2 separate regions of the Homo sapiens genome follow, and region 2 is linked to region 1. The links are contacts of gene promoters, found by promoter capture Hi-C in human tissues and cell types (Jung and others, 2019). All regions are on one chromosome and are shown on one strand. Each heading gives the region's core, a stretch centred on a gene start or on the middle of the fragment in contact. The rest is flanking DNA. Distances are from core to core; before and after follow the strand shown.

Evidence for each region. Contacts are between HindIII fragments. The study calls those that stand out against the background at their distance.
Region 2: a contact is called between the fragment with the promoter of IGFLR1 here and a fragment that was not itself captured in region 1, in 1 of the 25 tissues and cell types used here (spleen).

Annotation. Positions count from the first base shown.
Region 1 is chr19:35,429,993-35,435,562 of GRCh38, forward strand. LOC101927522 (a long non-coding RNA gene) reads right to left here and starts at 4,661. Exons shown (of 7, transcript NR_187751.1): 1 at 4,328-4,661; 2 at 3,597-3,846; 3 at 2,867-3,110. RefSeq lists an enhancer at 2,902-4,101. The HindIII fragment of the contact is 5,373 bases long and covers 841-5,570 here.
Region 2 is chr19:35,739,774-35,744,000 of GRCh38, forward strand. IGFLR1 (IGF like family receptor 1) reads right to left here and starts at 2,679. Exons shown (of 5, transcript NM_024660.4): 1 at 2,623-2,679; 2 at 1,251-1,450; 3 at 607-791; 4 at 1-315. The coding sequence starts at 1,407. U2AF1L4 (U2 small nuclear RNA auxiliary factor 1 like 4) reads right to left here. Exons shown (of 6, transcript NM_001040425.3): 5 at 4,036-4,131; 6 at 2,754-3,030. The coding sequence ends at 2,946. RefSeq lists enhancers at 1-627, 975-1,084, 2,432-2,861 and silencers at 765-894, 4,197-4,227. The HindIII fragment of the contact is 13,678 bases long and covers 1-4,227 here.

The DNA.
Region 1 (5,570 bases), core at 2,277-4,776:
CTGAAACGCCTCCTCCTTCTCCCGCCTACCCAGGCTGAACACCTGGAGAGGGGCAGGGTAGGAATGCCCCCTAGGTGACCAGAGTGGAGAGGAGGACACTGAAGGGGTCTAAGGATCACGAGACCGCGTGTGGCTTGACTTATTCGCCAAGTGGAGATTCCTCGATCATCCTCAGAGCCTGTGGTCCCTTCCATCTAGTCAAGAATGGGCAGGAGGCCAGGCGAGACAAAACTCAAGGGGAAAGCCGTACTCATTTTTATCAACATCTCCTTGCCAGGAAGCTTGTGGTATTCACTCAAATCCAGGACATGATAAACATTTACAGAAAATAATAAAAGCAGATGATGTGAGGACAGTCAAGAGACGCAAAGTACACTTATGCTCCCCCTCCTCATCTAGAAAGTGGGTCTGCATGGAGTGTAACAGCAGAATCTGACATAGCTGACTCCACCCTGCTTCTAACCTCACAAGCTAATGGTCTTTGTCATTCCTGCACATCAGCCAAGCTAATCATGGGAAGAATTTAGTTTACAGTTTAACTTTAAAGCAAGGATGACAATAATCCCTTCCCAACACTCACCCCCAAGGAGATAAGGAGGGTGTACACACTAGCAGCTACATCATATTAAAGATTTATAGGAACATTGTGACCTCAGCAGGACAAAGAAGTTGCACAGTGCCCCTCCTCGGACACTCACTGCCACCCAGATGTCCGCTATCATCGGTCACCTCTTGATCTTAAACCTCACTCTCTTCCCCCTTCCCTAATGTAAAAGGAGCCCAAAATTCTATTACTTAAGATTGTTCTCAAGACACTAGGTCTGCTATCTCCTCAGTCTGCTGGCTCTCTGAAATAATGTCATTTTTCCTTCCCCCAATATCTCGTCTCTTGATTTATTGGCTGTTGTGCAGAGATTGGTATGAGCTTTGGATTCAACTGCAGGAGGACGGTGAAGCCAGAAGAGATAGAGAGAGAGAGAGAAAGAGAAATGAGCAGCTGCTGAATCATGAGGGCTTCCCTAATGGCAGGGAAAGAAGAAAGTTTTGACAGACAGTGGGGCAAGACACTTGCACAAAACAGGAAGCCAGAGGAATCCTTAAAACCCACACATCATACAAAAATAAAGAAAGAAAATAAAACATGATAAAAGAAATGAAACCCATACATCAGATCACTTACTCCTCTGCCTTATACCCTTCAAGAGTTTCCTATGACTTTGGGAATAAAATCCAAATCCTCACCTTGGACAACAGGGCCCTGCACCATGTGTTTTCCCTCCACCCCCTCCACCCCCAGCTGTCACGTCTCTGACCTGGTTTCCCATCACTTCCCTCATGCTCATTCCCACCCCACCCCCCCAGCCACACTGGCCTCCTTTCGGTTTCTCCATCACACCAAGCTTCGTATCGCCTCAGGGCCTTTGCAAAAAATGTCCCATCTGCCCCGAGTGTTCCTCTCCCAGCTCTTCCATGGAGAGCACCTACAGGCCTCGGCTCAAATGTCACCCCTTCAAGGACATTTCCCTGCTGCCCCCAGCACAGATTACCCTATTCTATCATCCAATTCTATTTCCTTCCGAAAGCGTGCCCCACATTACCTCCTATATTACTGTAGAGACTGTACTAGTGTCTCACCCCTCCCCACAACTACAATGTCAATTTCATGAAGGCAAGAACCATGTCTGCCTTTAAAAAAAAAAAAAATCAGGGTCTCACTCTGTCCCACAGGCTAGAGTGCAGTGGCACAATCTAGGCTCACTGCAGCTTTGATCTCCTGGGCTCAAGTGATCCTCTGACCTCAGCTTCCTGAGTAGCTGGAACTAAAGGCATGCACTACCACATCTGGCTAATTTTTGTATTTTTTTGTAGAGATCAGGTGTCACCATGTTACCCAGGCTGGTCTTGAACTCCTGAGCTCAAGCAATCCACCTGCCTTGGTCTCCCACCAAGTGCTGGGATCATAGGCATGAGCCAACACACCCAGCCACAATGCCTGTCTTGTGATGCTCTATCCCCAACCATCCATGGAGAGATGAAAATGCATGATCTGGTTGTTACCTTGCACTCAGCTGCCTAATCCAAGAGACATGCAGGTGACTTTGAGAAGGCTGGGGCTGTCCTGGGCCCACAGAATTCAGACAGAAGACACTGGGGAAAGGAGAGGAGGTGGGACAGGGACCAGACACAGAGCACTGGAAAGGAGAGGATGTGCAGGAGCAAGAGCTGAGCCGGATTTTCCAGACGGCGGCAGACTCTGGGGGGCTGCCTGGACTTGGGGCATTTTTTCTGGGCTGGCCCTGGACTTAGAGAATATTTTTGTGATTTAGCGGCCCCAATTTTTGTGAAATGTCCTCTGCTGACTGAGAGATTAACCTGCTTTGACTGGGCCATGCTAAAAAATGAACAGGAATTTGATATAGTCCAGTGTGGAGGTGGAGAGGGAGGGAGGTGAAGAAAGAACAGAAGGAAGGGGTAAGACACACTGAGGAGCAGATGGAAGTTACCTGAGGGGATCCTCCAAAGAAGAAAGGGTGGGCTATGCAAACAGTGGATGTAAAAAGACGCCTGGAAGAAGTTAGGACTTGGATTTCTAGGAGAGATTAATTCGACTTGTAGGAGCAGGGATTTGGGGAGAGGCAGAGGGCTCTGCTGCCTCTGAAAGAGCTCACCGAGTGCGCTCCCTCTCTCTGACTAAGGACCCCTGTGGATAAGAAAGCTCTCTGCCCTAGAGAAGAAGAGCAGTCAAGGTGCTTACAGGCTCTTTCCCGAAGACTGAAGACCTTTCCCAGGGTGGACTGTGGTGCCCTTCCCTGTGCAGGCACCCTGACCACTGTGTGTTCAGAGAAGAGGGATGTGGCACACACACCTGAGAAGCACTGGGACTCCTGCGAGACCAAGTGGGAGGTTGCCACTCCTGGGGACCATCTGATGGGAAGCAGCGGTGAAGAAAAGGGAATGGCGTCTGGATGTGGATGGAGGCAGGTGCTTCTACTGCTGCCCGGCCAGAGAGGAGCATCCCCAGAGGGTCCGTCCCTAGCCAGGCTGGAAGCTTGTCTCTGCGCATCTGGTCCCCTCTCGAAGCAGTTCTCAAAAGCCGTTGAGACACACTGCTGGGATGTGGCAACACACCAAGAGGCAAGAAATGTAAGTCCATGGTTCCTGGTAATACTGAAAAAACTAGGCTTTGGAAGTTTAAGTAAACAAAGAAATGAGAGGATATAAGGTAAGCTGTTACAACGTCACTGTCAGTTATGAGTATTCTGTTATGCTTTCTTTTGAGCCAGTCTCGCTCTTTTGCCCAGGCTAGAGTACAGTGGCATGATCTCGGCTCACTGCAACCTTTGCCTCCCGGGTTCAAGCGATTCTCCTGCCTCAGCCTCCTGAGTCACTGGGATTACACATGCCCGCCACCACACCCAGCTAAATTTTTTTGTATTTTAGTACAGACAGGGTTTCACCATGTTGCCCAGGGTGGTCTCAAACTCCTGAGCTCAGGCAATCCGCCCACCTCAGCCTCGCAAAGTGCTAGGATTACAGGTGTGGGCCATCATGCCTGGCCCCCATTACACTTTCTAGAGAGAGGAAGAAGTACTAACCTCACAGTGCAGACTGGAGACTGCACAGCACATGCGCAGATGGTCTTGACAGAGGATGCCTCCCTCTGTGCTGGGGAACTCATCCTTGCCCATTCAGTTTCCGTGGCTCAAGCAGGCTGATGTCAGCCCTTGGCGATGCTGTTGGCGTGTGTGACCCACAAATCATTCAGAGGCAGCAGAGCCAGCCTGGAGATCCGGGCTGTGACTTCAGGACAGGAGACCCTCTCTCTGCACAGGTTATTATCCTAAACTGCCAAAGGTCACTGCGTGAAGCAATTTTACTAAGAGCCACCAAACCCCTCTCTTCCCTCCAACCAAGTTCATTCACCCTTCTCAGAAGAGCCCAAGAGACCTCTGTGAGAGTAAGACAGGAGTTGGCGATGGTGCAATTTGCAGAACGCCATGTTTGTTAGCGCCTTGTCTTCATGTGGCCGGAGGGCACTCCTGAAGCTTCAAACTCCTGTAAAAACGCTTCCTGTCCAGGGAGGGTGGTATGGGAAGTCTGAGGTGGCTGGGAGAGGAACTGGCGAAGTAAGGAGTTGGAGCAGGAGTCAGAGAGACATGGGATGGGGAAACTCACAAGCAGACTCCACCCCAGTCAGGGAACCTCACTCACCGTTCCATTAAGGGCTGGAAAAGGAGGCACCGACAGGTGTCTCACAGAAGCGAATGGTAGCTGTTCAGGAGGCTGGACCCAGGAAAAAGGACATAAAATCGGGGAGGTGCCTCACCCTAATTTTTCTCAACTCCAGCAGAACCTTCTTAGAGAGCCTCACTCAATTCCACATTTCTCCTCCTCTCAGACAAGCCCGGCAGCTCCGTCCACGTCCTTTGCTGAATGGAGCCAGCGTGGTCACTTCTGCCCTATCGAGGAAGCTGAAGGCCCTGGCCCATCTCTGACAGCTCAGGGCACAGGAAAGCCTTGCCTCTGCCTAGTCTGCCCTCTGCTTCCCCACCAGCGTCATCTGTGGCCCACGGCTCTTGGCTGGACCTGCACTGAAGGACACAGCTGCTCCGAGCTACACAACAGGGTGGCTGTCCCTCCGCCCTCCATGTGTGGTGGCTGCTGCAGCAGGATACAGCCAGCCTCCTGGCTGCTATCCCACAGTGCTATGGTTGATTGCGTTCTTACACTGGAAGATAAACAGTGCTTGTGTCAAAGAAAATAGAAACAAGGCCGAGCATGGTGGCTCATGCCTGTAATCCCAGCACTTTGGGAGGCGGAGGTGGGCAGATCACTTGAGGTCAGGAGTTTGAGATCAGCCTGTCCAACATGGCGAAACCCCATCTCTACTAAAAATATAAAAATTAGCTGGGTGTGTTGGCATGCGCCTGTAACCCCAGCTACTCGGGAGGCAGAAGCAGAAGAATTGCTTGAAACCGGGAGGCAGAGGTTGTAGTGAGCCAAGATCGCACCACTGCACTCCAGCCTGGGAGTGCTCATATGAGCACTCACTCTACAGAGACCCTGTCTCACAAAAATAAATAAATAAATAAATAAATAAAATAAATAGATAAAAAAAAGAGGTAGAAGCTGGAAAAGTGGTTATCTTAGGAGTGGAAGGTTTGCTGACTGAGAGGGAATAAAAGGGCCTCTAGGGTGCTGAAAATGGCCTGCATCTCAACCTGGGTGGTCATACACAAATGTACAGATATGTTAACATGCATCCAGCTGTATCCCTAAGTTGAGCTCACCTTTTTGTATGTATGTTACCTGTTAATAACACAATTGATAAAAGCCCCCTCTAAAATCCCACATCTTCCTATGGCTACCATAGATATTTTAGGCTTATAATTGGTTTTGCTCCCCATATTTGCTATTCAAGATCTGTATAATTTTGGAACTCTCCCCTTTTTCCTTGCCAACAGGGTCCCAATTTTGTTAGGTTCGGGAAGTGCCCAATTAATACTCATTTGCCCAAACTCTCTTGCGGCTAGGAATTGCCATGAGATACAATGTCAGCCAGTTGGAAA
Region 2 (4,227 bases), core at 1,429-3,928, 310 kb after region 1:
GGAGGACAGATGCGAGGAGGAAGGGGTGTGGGTGTTGGGGACTCCGCAGACCAAGCCAGGATAGGGATAGGGGTCGGCTTTCTCCTTGGGCCAGCAGAGATGCCAGAGCAGAATAAACAGGAGGATCGCTATCACCGCCAAGGTCAGGAGCAGGACCAGCACCACGAGCGGAAGGAAATTCGGCCAGGCCTGCTGAGGGACAGGCTCAGGGGTCCTCCAGGCAATGGAACTTGCTGGTGAGCTGCGCTCCTGGGAGCTAGGGGCGCCTGGGTTTCCAGGTGTGAGGGGGCAGTGCCCCTTGGCAGGGACCGGCCTCTGGGGATAAGGGGTTGGAGTAAAGCTGGAGGCCACACTCCACTCCTGCCCGCTCCCAAACCTCCCAACTTTATATCCTTTAATGGGGCCACATCCCATCTGATACGGTATCTGATAAGGTAGTTGGGCCCCGCAAGGCCCAACTACCTTAACCTAGGACCTCCCGACCCCTGCAGGCCAGCCACCTCCTGAAACCACGGCCCCACCCCTTACGTGGGGCTACGCCGGCTCCCTACATCTAGGCCCCCCACCTCCAGCACGCCCTTGCCCTGCCGGGAGTCCCATCTGCACCTCTCTGCAGCGCCACGGGGTTCTGCCCCCGCCCGCGGCGGGAGTAGGGGTCACGGCTCCGCCGCCGCAGGGGCTACATAGCTCCGCGCCGTCGGGGTTGCACTGCCCAGAAGAACACTTTCGGAACGGGGGCGTTACGAAATCGCCGTGGTCATTGAGTCCGCAGTTTTCCCGGAACTCATAGTCTAGCGGGAAAGCTGCGCTCCAGTGCGGCCGCCTAGCCCGCCCCTGCGCGGGCAACGCCCTCTCCCTTCGCCCTATCCCAGCGTGCCCCGCCCCTCCAGGACGCTTCCAGCCTATTAGCGTGCGCCCCGGTCTTGTCACTTTTCTCCGGGCTCGCCTTTTCACCCCCCTCCAGCCTGCTCCGCACGAAGCTCCGCCCACTCCCGGCTTCTCTACATAAAGCCCACCCTTTCCACGCGGCCCCTATCCCGCCTCTCCAGCCATATCCATTCGCTGTTGCCCTACGGTAGCCCGCACTATCTGCACAGGCTCTGCCTGCCATCCCTGTCTGATCTGCATAAGGCCCACCGCTTAGACCCCTAAGCAAGCCTCTCTGGCCCGTAGCCCACAGACCTCGCCCCTTCCCCGCTCCCTATCACCTGCAAGCTCCGCCCAAGCAAGGCTCGGTCTCGGATTCTCACCCGGGCAGGGGGGCGGCCCGAAGCGTTGCAGGCAGCTGCTGCAGCACTTGTTGTCTGGGTTCCAGTATTCAAGGCGGCCGCAGTACTGGGAGGCTTCCGGCGGTGGCGCCAGGGCCAGAAGCAACAAGGCCGTCAGGAGGCATCGTCCAGGCCCCATCTGGGGGGCCGTGATAGCGGGACTTCCAAACACAGCGCCTCTGCTACACTTTCCGGGGAAATCGGGCAGAAGAAAGGACGCGGTGATGTGGGGGAACAGAATTCTCACGCCTCTTCGGAAGCCGGGAATCTACCCCCGAGCCCTCATCCCCCAACTGAGCCGGTTATCAGAGAAGCCCACAAGGCCACTAGGGGACTAACAGGGCTGCGGATCTAGATTGCAAGAATGCATATCCCACCTCTGCCGTGTCCTCACCCACCCACCCTCCCTTTTCCATCCCTAAAATAAGACAATGATAGCACCTGTCTCATAGGGTTATTGTGGAGAATTAGAACCGTCATTAGAAGTAAAGCAGGGGCTGGGTGTGGTGGCTCATGCCTGTAATCCCAACACTTTGGGAGGCCAAGACAGGAGGATCACTTGAGCCCAGGAGTTCGAGAGATCAGCCTGGACAACAAAATGAAACCCCATCTTTACAAAAAAAAAAAAAAAAAAAAAAAACAGCAAAGCACTTTGCCAAGTGCAGTGGCTCACGTCTGTAGTCCCTGCTACTAGGGAGGCCAAGGTAGGAGGATTGCTTGAGCCATGAATTACAGACCAGCCTGGGCAACACAGCAAGACCTCATCTCTAAAAACAAAAAAAACTGGCCGCCGGGCGCAGTGGCTCATGCCTGTAATCCCAACACTTTGGGAGGCCCAGGTGGGTGGATCACCTGAGGTCAGTAGTTCAAAACCAGCCTGGCCTACATGGTGAAACCCTGTCTCTATTAAAAATACAAAATTAGCCGGGCGTGGTAGCGCATGCCTGTAAATCCCAGCTACTTGGGAGGCTGAGGCAGAATTGCTTGAACCTGGGAAGTGGAGGCTGCAGTGAGCTGAGATCGTGCCATTGCACTCCAGCCTGGGCAACAGGAATGAAACTCCTTAAAAAAAACAAAAACAAACTAAAGTGCTGAAAACAGCACCTCACATACAGTAAACTCAGTGTTTAAGTGTAAGGCATTACTAACTCCCATCACAATTCGGCAGGCACGGAGGAGTCAGCCCCATACTGGCTGGAGACCACCTCCCAGCACCTCACCTCACCTTTGAATCCTAATCTCCTTGGGGCTAGGGCTCCTCCCACCTGCCACAACCAGGTCTCTCCCCCTTGAATAAGCCTCAGATGGAGGTGCTAAGGTTTTCAGCACAAAGGTGTCCCCACCCTACCAGTACCGTTAGGGTCCTGGGTCCCAAGCTGGCCGTGCCAAGTTCCTCAGCTGAAGTTGTGGCCAGGACCCAGTCTTGTTTCCCCTTTTCGTCACATGTGTGGGTGGAGGGAAATGCCAAACCACAGCAAAAGCAAGTTGATGCCGAAGTGAAACACGCAGCTTTATTAAGACAGGGGCGGTAGAAGAAGGTCTCCATGCTGAACAGATTACATTATGGAGCCCGGGAGCCTGGGAAGGATGGGGCAGGAGAGTGAAGGGGGCTTTGAGGAGAGGTCCTGCCAGGAACATCTGTCCCTGTTGGGGGTGAAGGGTAAGGGGGCCAGGGCCTCAGAAGCGGCCATGCCAGTGATCAGGGGAACACCGATGGTTCCTCTCTCGGGGATGGTGGCCAGTATGGAACCTCGGGGGTGACCTGGGAATAGGAGCGTTGAGAGTTCTGTTAGAACCCTGAGGAGTGGTGCAGAGATCCTGCAGGCCTGCCTCTCTGCTCTGGGATGAGGCAGGAGGGTGCTGAAATAACTAGAGTTCTAAGACACGACCTCAGTGGCCAGTATCAGGGGAACTCAGTGGCCAGTATCAGGGGTGGCAATCCAGGCTGGTCGTGGATTAGGGGTTCAGGCTGGTTTGGGGATTGGGACTTAGGTACTGGTCTCCAGATGGAGCTCAGAACTACTCTTAGGGTATAAGAGTCTTGGGAATGACCGGGCGCAGTGGTTCACGCCTGTAATCCCCACACTTTGGGAGGCCGAGATGGGTGGATTACCTGAGGTCCGGAGTTCGAGACCAGGCTGGCCAACGTGGTGAAACCCCATCTCTACTAAAAATACAAAAATTAGCCAGGCATGGTGGCAGGTGCCTATAATCCCAGCTACTTGGGAGGCTGAGAAAGGAGAATTGCTTGAACCTGGGAGGCAGAGGTTGCACTGAGCCAAGACTGCGCCTTTGCACTCCAGCCTGCGGAAGAAGAGCAAAACTCCGTCTCAAAAAAAAAAAAAAAAAAAAAAAAAAAAAACAGTCAGCCGGGAGTGGTGGCTCACGCCTGTAATCCCAGCACTTTGGGAGGGTGAGGCAGGTGGATCACGAGGTTAGGAGTTCAGACCAGCCTGGCCAAGATGGTGAAACCCCATCTCTACTAAAAACACAAAAATTAGCCGGGCATGGTGGCAGGTGCCTGTAATCCCAGCTATTTGGGAGGCTGAGGCAGAGAATTGCTTGAACCCGGGAGGCGGAAGTTGCCATGAACCAAGATGGTGCCAATGCACTCCAGCCTGGGCAACAGAGTGAGGCTCCATCTCAAAAAAAAAAAAAAAAAAAAAAGATTCTTGGGAACGTGGTTACTGGGGCTTAGGGTTAGGCTCATCTGAGGATATAGGGGCCTTAGGACATGAGGAGACATAGCAGGCTGGTCCTGAGGTACCTGCGCCTGGGTCCCCGCCCATAGAGCTGCCTCTGGAGGTTCTGGGAAATGGGCCGCAGATGCATGAAGTTGCAGAAGCCACCTCGGGTACATTCCCTGCATAGAGGGTAGAGAGATGGAGGAAGCCATTGTCACTGACAGCCCCTACCACGCATTCAAAGTCTGGGATTCCAAGTGCCCATCCCACCCTTG